Linked DNA regions of Homo sapiens: regions 1 and 3 are each linked to region 2. The links are contacts of gene promoters, found by promoter capture Hi-C in human tissues and cell types (Jung and others, 2019). All regions are on one chromosome and are shown on one strand. Each heading gives the region's core, a stretch centred on a gene start or on the middle of the fragment in contact. The rest is flanking DNA. Distances are from core to core; before and after follow the strand shown. Region 1 holds the start of UBXN6 (UBX domain protein 6). Region 2 holds the start of ZBTB7A (zinc finger and BTB domain containing 7A). Region 3 holds the start of PIP5K1C (phosphatidylinositol-4-phosphate 5-kinase type 1 gamma).

Region 1 (3,655 bases), core at 1,077-3,576, 390 kb before region 2:
GTGCAGTGGTGCAATCTCAGCTCACTGCAACCTCTGTCTCCTGCGTTCAAGTGATTCTGCTGCCTCAGCTTCTCAAGTAGCTGGGATTACTGGCACACACCACCACACCCGGCTGATTTTTGTATTTTTAATAGAGACGGGGTTTTGCTATGTTGGCCAGGTCGGTCTTGAACTTCTGACCTTAAGTGATCCACCCGCCTTGACCTCCCAAAGTGCTGGGATTACAGGTGTGAGCCACCGCACCTGGCCCAATTCTTTTCCTTTTTTTTTTTTTTTTGAAACGGAGTCTTGCTCTGTTGCCCAGGCTGGAGCACAGTGGCATGATCTCGGCTCACTGTAAGCTCTGCCTCCTGGGTTCACGCCATTCTCCTGCCTCAGCCTCCCAAGTAGCTGGGACTACAGGCGCCCGCCACCAAGGCTGGCTAATTTTTTTAAAAATTATTTTCAGTAAAGACAGGGTTTCACCGTATTAGCCGGGATGGTCTCAATCTCCTGACCTCGTGATCCACCCGCCTCGGCCTTCCAAAGGGCTGGGATTACAGGCATGAGCCACCGTGCCTGGCCTTTTTTTCTTTTTTTAATAAGACAGGGTCTGGCTCTGTTGCCCAGGCTGGAGTGCAGTGGCGTGATCCTAGCTTACTGCAGCCTCCAATTCCTGGGCTAAAGCAATCCTCCCACCTTGGCCTCCCAAAATGTTGGGACTGCAGGCCTGAGCCACCCGTCCAACCCATGATATTTCAATTTCAGTCTTGGGGTGGGCTGTTTCCTCACCTGGAGGCTTCTCCTCCATCAGTCTCTGTGTATCTCATTCCAACTCCTTCTTTTTTGAGGCAGAGTCTCCCTCTGTTGCCCAGGCTGAAGTGCAATGGCGAGATCTCGGCTCACTGCAACCTCCACCTGCCGGGTTCAAGCGATTCTCCTGCCTCAGCCTCCCGAGTAGCTGGGATTACCGGTGCCCATAGAGACAGGCTTTCACCATGTTGGCCAGGCTGGTCTCAAACTCCTGACCTCAAGTGATCCGCCGGCCTCGGCCTCCCAAAGTGCTGGGATTAGAGGCATGAGCCACCACGTCTGACCCCCAACTCCCATTTTTTGAGGCTTGTTTTAACTGTCACTTTGTGTATCTTCTTTGTGGATTGCACAGACCAAAGTACGCCACTATTAACTGGTGTCCACCAAAGTGGATCCCCAATCCCCAGGTCCCAATTGGGTGCATTGGGTGCATCCTCTTTTTTTTTTTTTTTTTTTTTTTTTGAGACGGAGTCTCGCTCTGTCGCCCAGGCTGGAGTGCAGTGGTGAGATCTCGGCTCACTGCAAGCTCCGCCTCGCGGGTTCACGCCATTCTCCTGCCTCAGCCTCCCGAGTAGCTGTGAGTACAGACGCCTGCCACCATGCCCGGCTAATTTTTTGTATTTTTAGTAGAGACGGGGTATCACCGTGTTAGCCAGGATGGTCTCGATCTCCTGACCTTGTGATCCGCCCGCTTCGGCCTCCCAAAGTGCTGGGATTACAGGCATGAGCCACCGCGCCCGGCCCAGGTGCATCCTCTTAAACAGCTCCTACCTAGGGTACGTGGTGATGGTGGCGGGGGGGTGCTTCAGGCACCAAAACAGGCCAGATCGTGGGGGCCTCCAATACCCAACATTGAATTGGGATTTTATCACGTAAGCTCTGGGGAGACAGAGAAGGTTGGAATTTTTTTTGTTTTGCTTGAGACAGGGTCTCTCTCTGTCGCCCAGGCTGGAATGCAGTGGCTTGATCACAGCTCACTGCAGCCTCGACCTCTTGGGTTCAAGCGATCCTCCCGCCTCTGCCTCCCAAGTAGCTGAGAGGCGCGCGCCACCACCCTCGGCTAATTTATTTTATTTTATTTTTTTTTTTTTTATAGAGACGAGGTTTTGCCATGTTGCCAGGCTGGTCTCCAACTTCTGGGATCAAGCAATCCTTCCGCTTGAGCCTCCAAAGTGCTGTGATTGCAGGCGTGAGCCACCGCGCCTAGTTTAGGTTGAGCAGCGAAAGGGATAGGGCCCAGTGCTTTCTCTGCGAGGTTCAGTTGGCCTGTCCCTGTCCTATCACCGTTTGTCACCGTTTGGGGAGCGCCACGGAATGCCCTGTCTCCAATCGAGAGGTGCACTCGTCGCCCTGGCAACGGAGTCCGGAAGAACCACAGAGACGCGGCTCCAGCGTACAGAGCGGCCGCCCTGGGCCAGCAAGGCACCGAGCGCTAGAGAGGCACGTCTAGTCGATTGTCACGTGGCAGGCCAGGGGAAGGCGGGACTTCCGGCGGCGAGGTAAATTTTTTTTTTTTTTTTTTTTTTTTTTTTAATTTTCTTCCGGTGGCTGGTCTCCGGCGGCCCCGTCCCCGACTGGGCCCCGTGCCCCCCCGCCCCCGCGGCCCCCCGCCGCCGGGCCAGCCGCCACCATGAAGAAATTCTTTCAGGAGTTCAAGGCCGACATCAAGTTCAAGAGCGCGGGACCCGGTCAGAAGCTCAAAGAGTCCGTGGGGTGCGTGAGGAACGCAGGGGCTTGAGGCCCTGCGGGGCGGGGACGGCCGGGGAGAGAGATCTGGGGCCTTGGGCGGCTCGGGAGATCGGAGAGGATGAGGGGCTGGGAGCGGCACGCGAGGGTCAGGGGAGGGGGAGAGGCGCCGGGGGCGGACGAAGTCGGGCCGAGGGTGGGCGTCAGGGGGAGGGGAGAGAGATCTGGGGGCGGGGCAGGAGGGGGCGGGTATGACCCGGGGGCGCGGCGGGGGAGGCGAGGGGAGGGGAACTAGCGCAGGGGGCGGGGCGGGAGGGGAGGTCTCGGGGGCGGGGCCGCAGGAGGGTCCGATGCAGTGGCGGGGGATTAGGGCGACGGGGCTGTAGGCAGTTGGGGGTCAGTGGAACGACCTTTGGGGAAAAACGGGATCATGAGTCCTGAGCCGGGTGGTGAGGGAGAGCTCTGTCTGGGGACCCGGCTGGCCGAAGAGGCCGGGATGATTTGGGGCAATCTAGGTGACCATGGATGGGAGCTGAGCTTGGAGGAGGACGCACAGCTGTGGGGTGGGGTGGTGAAGAGTTGTTTTGAGGTATCCATGGGAAGAGGGGTTCTGGATTTGGTATCTGGAGCACGTGGGAGGCTGATGGGAGACTAGAAAGAGTCTGGAAGGCCAGGGAGGCCGGGGTGGGCAGCGTCGTCAGTGACCTGGGATGTCCTGGCGAATTGAGAGGGAGGGGCTGAGGAAGGTGTGTGAGGAGAGTGGAGGTGAGGGATTCTGACAGATGGACTCTTACCCGGGAGGGGCCTGAGAGGAGAAGACGGGTGAGACAGACGCGTCTTAGCAGGCTGGGAGAAAGAGCTTCTCTGCGAGGCTTCTCTGCCACGTCACTGTGCCAAGTGGATTATGGAAGTGGGAGAGGAGGGGAAAGGAGATAGATGCCGGGCAGGCTTCCGGATTGTCTAGGGAGGACTTGGAGAGAAGGGCCTGAGCAGGGCTGAGCCAGCTGGGAGGGCCGGGGAAGAAGTGGAGCTAGGGAAGGTGCAAGGCTGAGGGCTGTTGGGTTGAGAAAAGGGAAACTGGAGAGCTGGGGCCGCTGCAGGGAGCTGGCTGGCCAGAGGGTGGTGGGGACTGATGGAGAGGGACTGAGGAAGTCAGCCAGGCAGCCAGGACACGGGT
Region 2 (3,863 bases), core at 311-2,810:
CTGGGTCCCTTCCCACCTACCCGGCTGGTTTCAGGCTGCGAGTCCTGAGACAGTCCACTTCCCCTCCGGGGGGCCCTCCCGGGTTTCCCCTCGTAGCCAGATTATTATTACAAAAGCCAATCCAACCCGTTTGGGTGTTGAAAGGCGCTTTTAATAAATTGTGCGAAGAAGCCATAAACTGTGTCTCTCGCAGGAGAGGCTTTGAAGTCAGAGGACAGGCTGGGTACACTACACCCAGGCCGGTGGTGGTTCCCGCTGTCAGGTGGTGTTGGTACTAAGAATGCCAGATAATAATAAAACATAATAATGACCCTGGGATTAGGTGTTAGAATGAAGGCACAGTGAGCCCCGGAACAGGGTCACCCACTGGATAAGCGCTCACTAAACGGCAGCTAAAGCAGCTGTCAGTACTCTCTCTGTCTGGAGGAATGAGGAAGGGGAAACTGAGTCCTGGAGCCCTCCCCCCCCCCCCCAGGCGCGCGGTCGCACCAGCCAGCCCTCCCCGGGCCGGGCCAGGACGTTCTCACCACTCGTGCCCTGCTCCCCCTTCCCTGTCCCCCGCCGGACCTCTCCCACGACCGGGGAGGAAGTGGGAGAAACGGACAGGGGAAAAAAAAAAGTCGCGCTGAACCAACGCCTCCCCACTCCCCACCTCCGCCCCTCGCGAGCCATGCAGACCCCCTTGTGCCAAGGAGCGGCCCGCGCGGACCAGGCGTCCAGGGCCCGGTCCCCGTCCCGCCCCGCGGCCCGCAGCCGGGTGGGGGAACTCGCGAAGCCGGGAAAACAACCGCCCTCCCCGCCCCTCGCCAACCCCTTCCCCCGCTGACGCCCCTAGCGCAGCGGGGTGGAGGCGACTCCTTTATATAATCGCGGGAGGGCAGGTTGGTGGTTTCATTTAGGGACCCGGGAGCCCCGCGGACCCGGGCTGTCCTTGGCAAGGCCACCCCCCGGGGTCCCTGGCGCGGCAAGTCCCACTGAGGCCCGGGGAGGCCCAGGGCCTGGCCTTGCGGGGGGATCCCCACCGCCTCACCCCCAACCCACCCCCGGCAGCCCAGGCCGCGCGACCCACACGCCCGCGTCGCTCCTCGCTGTGCGCACCGCGCTCCCCGCCCCCGCTGCCATCCTGCCACGCCCCGGGCGTCGGGGGCACAGCCCGCGCCCCCCCGCACCCCGCCCCTGCGCAGAGGCTGGGGGCCTGTTTATCTGGAGGCCCCCACCCCCCCTCCACCCCGGGGGGCCCGCTCCCCCCGCGCCCCGGGGAGCTCTGGGGCCAGATAAGCTGGCAAGCTGGCACGGCGCCGCGCGGCGGGGCGGAGAGGTCAGAGGCGGGGGGGCGCGCCGGGGCGGGCCGGACCCCCCCCCCCGACTTGACAAAACCTAATAACAGCCCGGTCTCCCCGGCGCAGCGGGCGAAGCCCCACGGGAGGGCAGAGACGTGGCAAGAGGGGACCTGCCGAGCCTGTTCTGGCCTCCGAGGCCAGGCTGGGGGGGGCGGGCTGGGCGTGGGGGGGCCGGCGGCTGCGGCACCTTTAAGACAAGGGAGGACCCCTCTTGCCCTCGGAGAAACCAGGAAGGGAGTCGCGAGCATCATACGGGGCTTTGGCTGTACTGTACAGTTACTGTAGGGGCAGTGACGCCGCCGCCGCCGCGCGAGGGAGCGACCAGGGCAGCGCGACGCGGGCAGAGCGAGCGCCGCGGACCCCGGAGGCGAGCGGCCGAGGGAGCCCAGTCCCAACTTCGGGCCCCGGCCCCGCGCGCCCCGGCCCGGCCCCGCGAGGTAAGTCAGCGCCCGGCGCGGCCCCCGGCACGGGGTGCAGGGCGGGGACGGGCGGGGGTCGCTGCGGCCACCGCTGCCCCCTCGGGAAGGGGAGATCCGGGGAGCCGGGGACGTTCCCCCAAGTTTCAGAGGAAGGGGTGGTTGGCAGCTGCCCGGAGGCTGGAGGCGCCCTGGATCCCGAGCGCGGGGAGGGGGCGCCGCCCGGGAAGGGGGGATTGGGGGCTAAGTGCATGAGCTTGTGCGCCAGCCCCCCCCAACCCGGGTGCATGGCTTTTCGGGGCTCCCAGGCGCGCGGGGAGCGGGGGAGGGGAAGCAGGGCTGCATTGAGGGTGGGGGGAGCCGGCGTGGGGAGATAGGGGGGCGCGTCGCCTGCTAAGTTTCCAGCTGAAGACGAGGGGCGCTCTCGCCCCCCGGGGGCCTATTCGGTGCTGCGTGCATACGTTGGAGTTGGCCAGGATTGAGCTCCATGGGGGATGGGGGGGAGGGGGCTGAAAAAACAGGGAGGGGGGCTTCGGAAAGGAGGGGGAAGGGGTGGGGTGTCCGGGTGGGCGGGCAGGGCCGCAGGGACCTCTGGGCTTCGTAGTCCCTCCGCCGTTTGCAGCCGGCAGGTGGCAAGCGGCTTGGACTACAAGTCCCAGGGTGCCCCGCGCCGACAGCCCGCCGCGGCCTGCGGGTAGGGGCGGTGCGGAGGAGGGGCGGTGAGCGGCGGGCCGGAGAGCCAATGGGCGCGGGCCGATCGCGCGGCGCGGCGCGGGGGCGGGGCCAGCCCGCCAGGGGGCGGGGCCTGGAGCCGGGCTCCCCTCGCCGGGGGCCGGTGGCGGTCCCGGCTTCCGGCTGCGCGGCCCGCGGGCCGGCCCCCTCCCCGCCCCGGGGCCCCTCCCCGCCTGGTTGTGTAACCGTCCCCAGCCCCCCTCCCCTCGGCCCCCCGCCCGTGGGGGGGGGGTCACCCTCCCCGCGCTCCCCGGGGAGGGCGGCGGCCCGGGCGGCCGCGCGGTGCAGGCGAGCCCGGGGATGCGCGGCCTAGCGCAGGCCGGGCCCGGGCGTGGGGGAGGCGGGCGGGCGGACCCAGATCCGGGGTAATTTGCATCGCCCTCCCCCCAGCCCGGGTGGGGATTGGCCGCCGGCGGCGGGGGGTGGCGCGGGGCCAGGCTCACTGCCGCCTCCCGGCCCCTCGGAGGGAGCCAGCCCAGCCGCAGCCGCCGCCACCGCCGCCGCCGGGGCCGGGCCCCCTCGCCGCTGCCCCGGGAAGGAGGTAGGAGCCCCCCGCGCGGGCGAGGCGGCGGGGGACCGCGGGCCGGGCGGGGGCCGCGCGCTGCGGCCGGGGCGGGGGAGGGGGCCGCTTCCTGCCCCCGCCCGGGCCTGACTCAGCCCCGGGTGGGGGGCCTGGCCTGGCCCCTCGCCCTGCCCGGACGGCCGTCCGGCTCCGACCCGCGGGAGGGGGCGGAGAGAGCACCCCAGTCCCCGCCGTCCGCGCCCCCAAAGCGCGTGACCCCGTCTCCTCTGGCCCGGACCCCCCCTCCTTTCCCTTGACGCCACCACCACGTGCGAAGCCTGAGCCCGGGCAGGGGAGGGGGGAGCTGGTGGGATCCAGCCCCCTCCCTCCCGCTCCCTACCTCCCGGGCGGGAGACCCAGCCCCCCCGGCCTGGGAGCCTGGCTGGGGGCTGAGCGGAGCGGAGGAGCGGGTGCCCCCCCAGGGACCGGGCCTCTGCGGGTTCTGGGAGGCGCTGCCCGGGCTGGCTGGCGGGGGCGCACGGTGGGCCGCGGCGGGAGGTTGCTGTCCACCCGGGCCCGGACACCCAGTCGGCGCCCACTAAATGTTGGCGGAATGCAGCCAGGAGTTGGCGGCGAGGCGGGGGGAGGCAGCAACTCCTCTCCCCCCAGTCAGGCGGCGGAAGTCACAGAGGTGCTGGTGCCCCTGCCACCCGCGGCACCCACCTGGCTCACCCATGGGTGGCGGGCTCGGTGGGCCCCCCCACCTCCCTGCCAGCTGCCTCCGGAGAGGGCGTGGGGATTCCGTGTCAGTGCCCCCCGCCCCAACCTCAGAACTGGACCAGGGCGTAACCCTGAGCGTGCCGCTCCCACACT
Region 3 (3,491 bases), core at 120-2,619, 370 kb after region 2:
CACCACGCCTGGCTAATTTTTTGTATTTTTAGTAGAGACGGGGTTTCACCATGTTAACCAGGATGGTCTCAATCTCCTGACCTCGTGATCCGCCCGCCTCGGCCTCCCAAAGTCTTGGGATTACAGGCATGAGCCACCGCGCCCGGCCCTGTGTAGATCAATATTATTTACATGTACTGTGTATATCACTGTTATTGGTATATTTTGTGCATATCAATGTTATTGACATGTAGTGTGTATATCAATGTTATTGACATGTAGTGTGTACATTAATGTTATTGGCATGTAGTGTGTATATCAATGTTATTGGCATGTAGTGTGTATATCCATGTTATTGGCATGTAGTGTGTATATCAATGTTATTGACATGTAGTGTGTGTATCAATGTTAGTTACATGTATTGTGTAGATCAATGTTATTGGTATTCATTGTGTATAGCAATGTGATTGGCATGTATTGCATATAGCAATGCTATTTGTATGTTTTATGTAGATCCATGTCAATGATATAGTATAGATTCATGTTATTGGCATGTATTGTGTATATCCATGTTATTGGCATGTATTGTGCATATCCGTGTTATTGGCATGTATTGTGTATATCCATGTTATTGGCATGCATTGGGTAACTCCATGTTATTGGCATGTGCTGTGTAGGTCCATGTGTGGTTTTTTTTGGGACAGAGTCTCACTCTGTGGCCCAGGCTGGAGGGCAATGGTGCGATCTCAGCTCACTGCAACCTCTCCCTCCTGGGTTCCAGCGATTCTCCTGCCTCAGCCTCCCGAGTAGCCGCGATTACAGGCATGTGCCACCACGCCCAGCTATTTTTTGTATTTTTAGTAGAGACAGGATTTCACCATGTTGGTCAGGATGGTCTTGAACTCCTGACCTCAGGTGATCCGCCCTCTTCGGCCTCCCAAAGTGCCGGGAATATAGGCGTGAGTCACCGCGCCCGGCCAGATCCATGTTATTGTCATGCGCTGTGCAGGTCCCTGTTATTGGCATGTGCTGTTTAGATCCATGTTATTGGCATGTGCTGTGTACATCCATATTATTGGCACGTGCTGTATAGATCCATATTATTGTCATGTGTTGTGTAGATCCATGTTATTGGTATGTGTTGTGCACAGCAATGTTATTGATACGTATCGTGCCTGTCAATCTTACTGACCTAATACGATGGAATGGCGAGCCTGGCTCTGTACTCCCACCCCTGGGCGCGAGGGGGCACTCGAGGCGCTCCTGGCTGCGGGTCGCAAGCAGGCCCCGCCCCCGAGCCCCGATTGGCCGCGCGCCGTCCGCGGCGTCGCACGCACGCAGGCCCCGCCCCGTCCGCCCCGCGCCGGCCCGGCGCGCCCTCCCTTGGCCGGCGGCGCTTGTTGTTCGGCGGCGGCGGTCGCAGCTCGGGTCCCCCTCGGGCGCCCCCGCCGCCGTCCGCGCGCGGCCATGGAGCTGGAGGTACCGGACGAGGCGGAGAGCGCTGAGGCGGGGGCCGTGCCCTCGGAGGCGGCGTGGGCGGCAGAGAGCGGGGCGGCGGCAGGTAACGGCCCGGCCTCCCGGGGCTGCGGCCCGCTGGGCTCGTCCGAGCGCCGAGAGTCGCGGGGCTGCGGGGCCGGGGCGGGGGCTGCACGGTCGCTGCGGGGGCGCCGCCGGTTCCAGGAGCCTGGGGCGGGGCAGTCCCCTGGAGCCGCGGGGAGGACGGGGCTGAAGCCGCGCCGGGAAGCGGGAGGCCTGCGAGGGGCTACCTCCCACCGCTCCCGGGCCGGGGGCGACTCGGCGTGGGCGCCGCTGGGGATCCCCGTTCTGCCTGACCCGCTCCCAGGGGCTGCCCGTCGTGTGAGTGGCGGCTGCTTGGGTGGAGGCGGGGGTCTCTGAGGCCGTGCGTGCCCACCTCCTGATGTCACCTCCCTTTCTGTAAGTCCCCAGACCTGAGTCCGGGTGCGCGACCTTTCCTCACCTTCCTGGGCCTCAGTTTACCTCCCTGCTAAAATGAGGGGAGGAAAAGGGTTACATCTCAAGATGCCTCCACCGCCCCGGCTGTGCACACAGGGTGCCCTGTCGCCCCCTTTTCCTCTCCCCGAGCCTTCCCCCAGGACACACTGGTGGGGCTGCGGGCTGGGCGGGGGGCACGGCTGTCTCATGCCCCCTTTAGCTGCTTCCTGGACCTCCAGCCGGGTAGGTGGCGGCAGCTGGGCCTTCCCTTCTGTGGGGACGGTGTGCAGAGCCCAGAGGAAGGGAACAGTTCCTTCTCAGTCGAGGTCACAAGCTCCCAAATCGGAAGTTTCCGGATTCACAAAATCCTCTGCTCCTCCCAGGCAGCCAGCAGCAGCGTCTCTGTAGACACCCACACGGGCATCCGTCCTCCTTCTCCCCCCAGGCCTCCCGAAGCTTCCTTGGTTGGCAGGCGGGCAAGCGGGCGGGCGGGCGATGCGTGCTGCCTGGGAGTTGGGGAGATGTCTGGAGAGAGAGAGAGTGTGGAAGTCATCAAGTCCCCCCCCCACCCCCCGCCTTGAAAGACACTCGTGGCTTCCCTCCCGGCGGCCATCTGGAACCGCTTGGTAGGTGACCCGGTTCCTTCCCCAGAGCCAGTGGCCTCGCCCCTTTCTTTGCGGGCAGCCGGTGTCCTGGCCTGGCCAGCAAGAGACATGGTGGAGGAACCCAGGCAGGGCACCAGGCCCCAGCCCGGGTTCCTTTCTTGGGCCCCCCAACTTCCGCTGTCAGCCCTCTGACCCCAGCTGGTCAGAGACAAAGTAGCCCAGGACTCGCTGACCAAAAGAAAACCACACCGCGACCATTCATCTTATCAGGGGCTCTGGGAGCACCGGGGACAGATAAAGTTGCCAGCTCCAGACTGAGCATGGTGGTGGGGTGGGAGAGCGGGGGAGTGGGGGGGTGGGGGTGGGGGGCCGGGGAGGGCTGGAAGGTCAGGGTCTGGCATCTCTGCCCATCCCTGAAATCCACAGAAATCTGACCCCAGCTGGCCATATACTGCTTCTGAATGTTTAAAATTCAGAGTTGCCTCACTCCTCCAACGCCATCCCTCCTGATGTTAGCGCTGGTGAGTTTAGGTTGTGCCTGGCTGGGCCACAGAGACGTGAGCACATAAAGGGGCCTGCTTGTTCTTCACCGAGATGGTTTCATGCCTCACTGGGGCTTCTGTGCCTTGGCAGAGGTATTTTGAGTCAGGAAATTAGGGGTGCTGAGCAACGCCCCTGGCTTCTGCCCACTCCATGCCAGGAGCACCTGCCAGTTGTGACAGCCACAAGTGACCCAGACACCGTTCAGTGTCCCCTGGGGGCAGGACGGCCCTGGTGAGAAATGCCACACGTTTATGACTCTGTGAACTGCTTGCTTTTTATCTCTGGTCATCTGGAGTCTCCCCACCCTATGTTGGTATCGGTTTGTAGAGAGGGCGAGCGCCAGGCAGTGGTTAAGGGGGAGCCCCAGAGTTGGTCCCGCCGATGTCCCCCTCCCAGCTCCGCGCTTCAGGT

The links. The method cuts DNA at HindIII sites, captures the fragments that hold promoters and counts their contacts. A contact is called where the count stands out against the background at its distance.
Region 1: a contact is called between the fragment with the promoter of UBXN6 here and the fragment with the promoter of ZBTB7A in region 2, in 1 of the 25 tissues and cell types used here (bladder).
Region 3: a contact is called between the fragment with the promoter of PIP5K1C here and the fragment with the promoter of ZBTB7A in region 2, in 1 of the 25 tissues and cell types used here (stomach).

What each region holds. Positions count from the first base shown.
Region 1 is chr19:4,456,465-4,460,119 of GRCh38, reverse strand. UBXN6 (UBX domain protein 6) reads left to right here and starts at 2,326. Exons shown (of 11, transcript NM_025241.3): 1 at 2,326-2,505. The coding sequence starts at 2,423. RefSeq lists an enhancer at 2,065-2,264 and silencers at 2,375-2,424, 2,455-2,524. The HindIII fragment of the contact is 9,046 bases long and covers 1-3,655 here.
Region 2 is chr19:4,064,596-4,068,458 of GRCh38, reverse strand. ZBTB7A (zinc finger and BTB domain containing 7A) reads left to right here and starts at 1,560. Exons shown (of 3, transcript NM_015898.4): 1 at 1,560-1,777. RefSeq lists silencers at 710-1,039, 1,100-1,209, 1,420-1,479, 1,520-1,569, 1,580-1,779 and 3 more. The HindIII fragment of the contact is 23,363 bases long and covers 1-3,863 here.
Region 3 is chr19:3,698,346-3,701,836 of GRCh38, reverse strand. PIP5K1C (phosphatidylinositol-4-phosphate 5-kinase type 1 gamma) reads left to right here and starts at 1,369. Exons shown (of 18, transcript NM_012398.3): 1 at 1,369-1,540. The coding sequence starts at 1,447. RefSeq lists silencers at 1,121-1,610, 1,691-1,830 and an enhancer at 1,529-2,312. The HindIII fragment of the contact is 9,003 bases long and covers 1-3,491 here.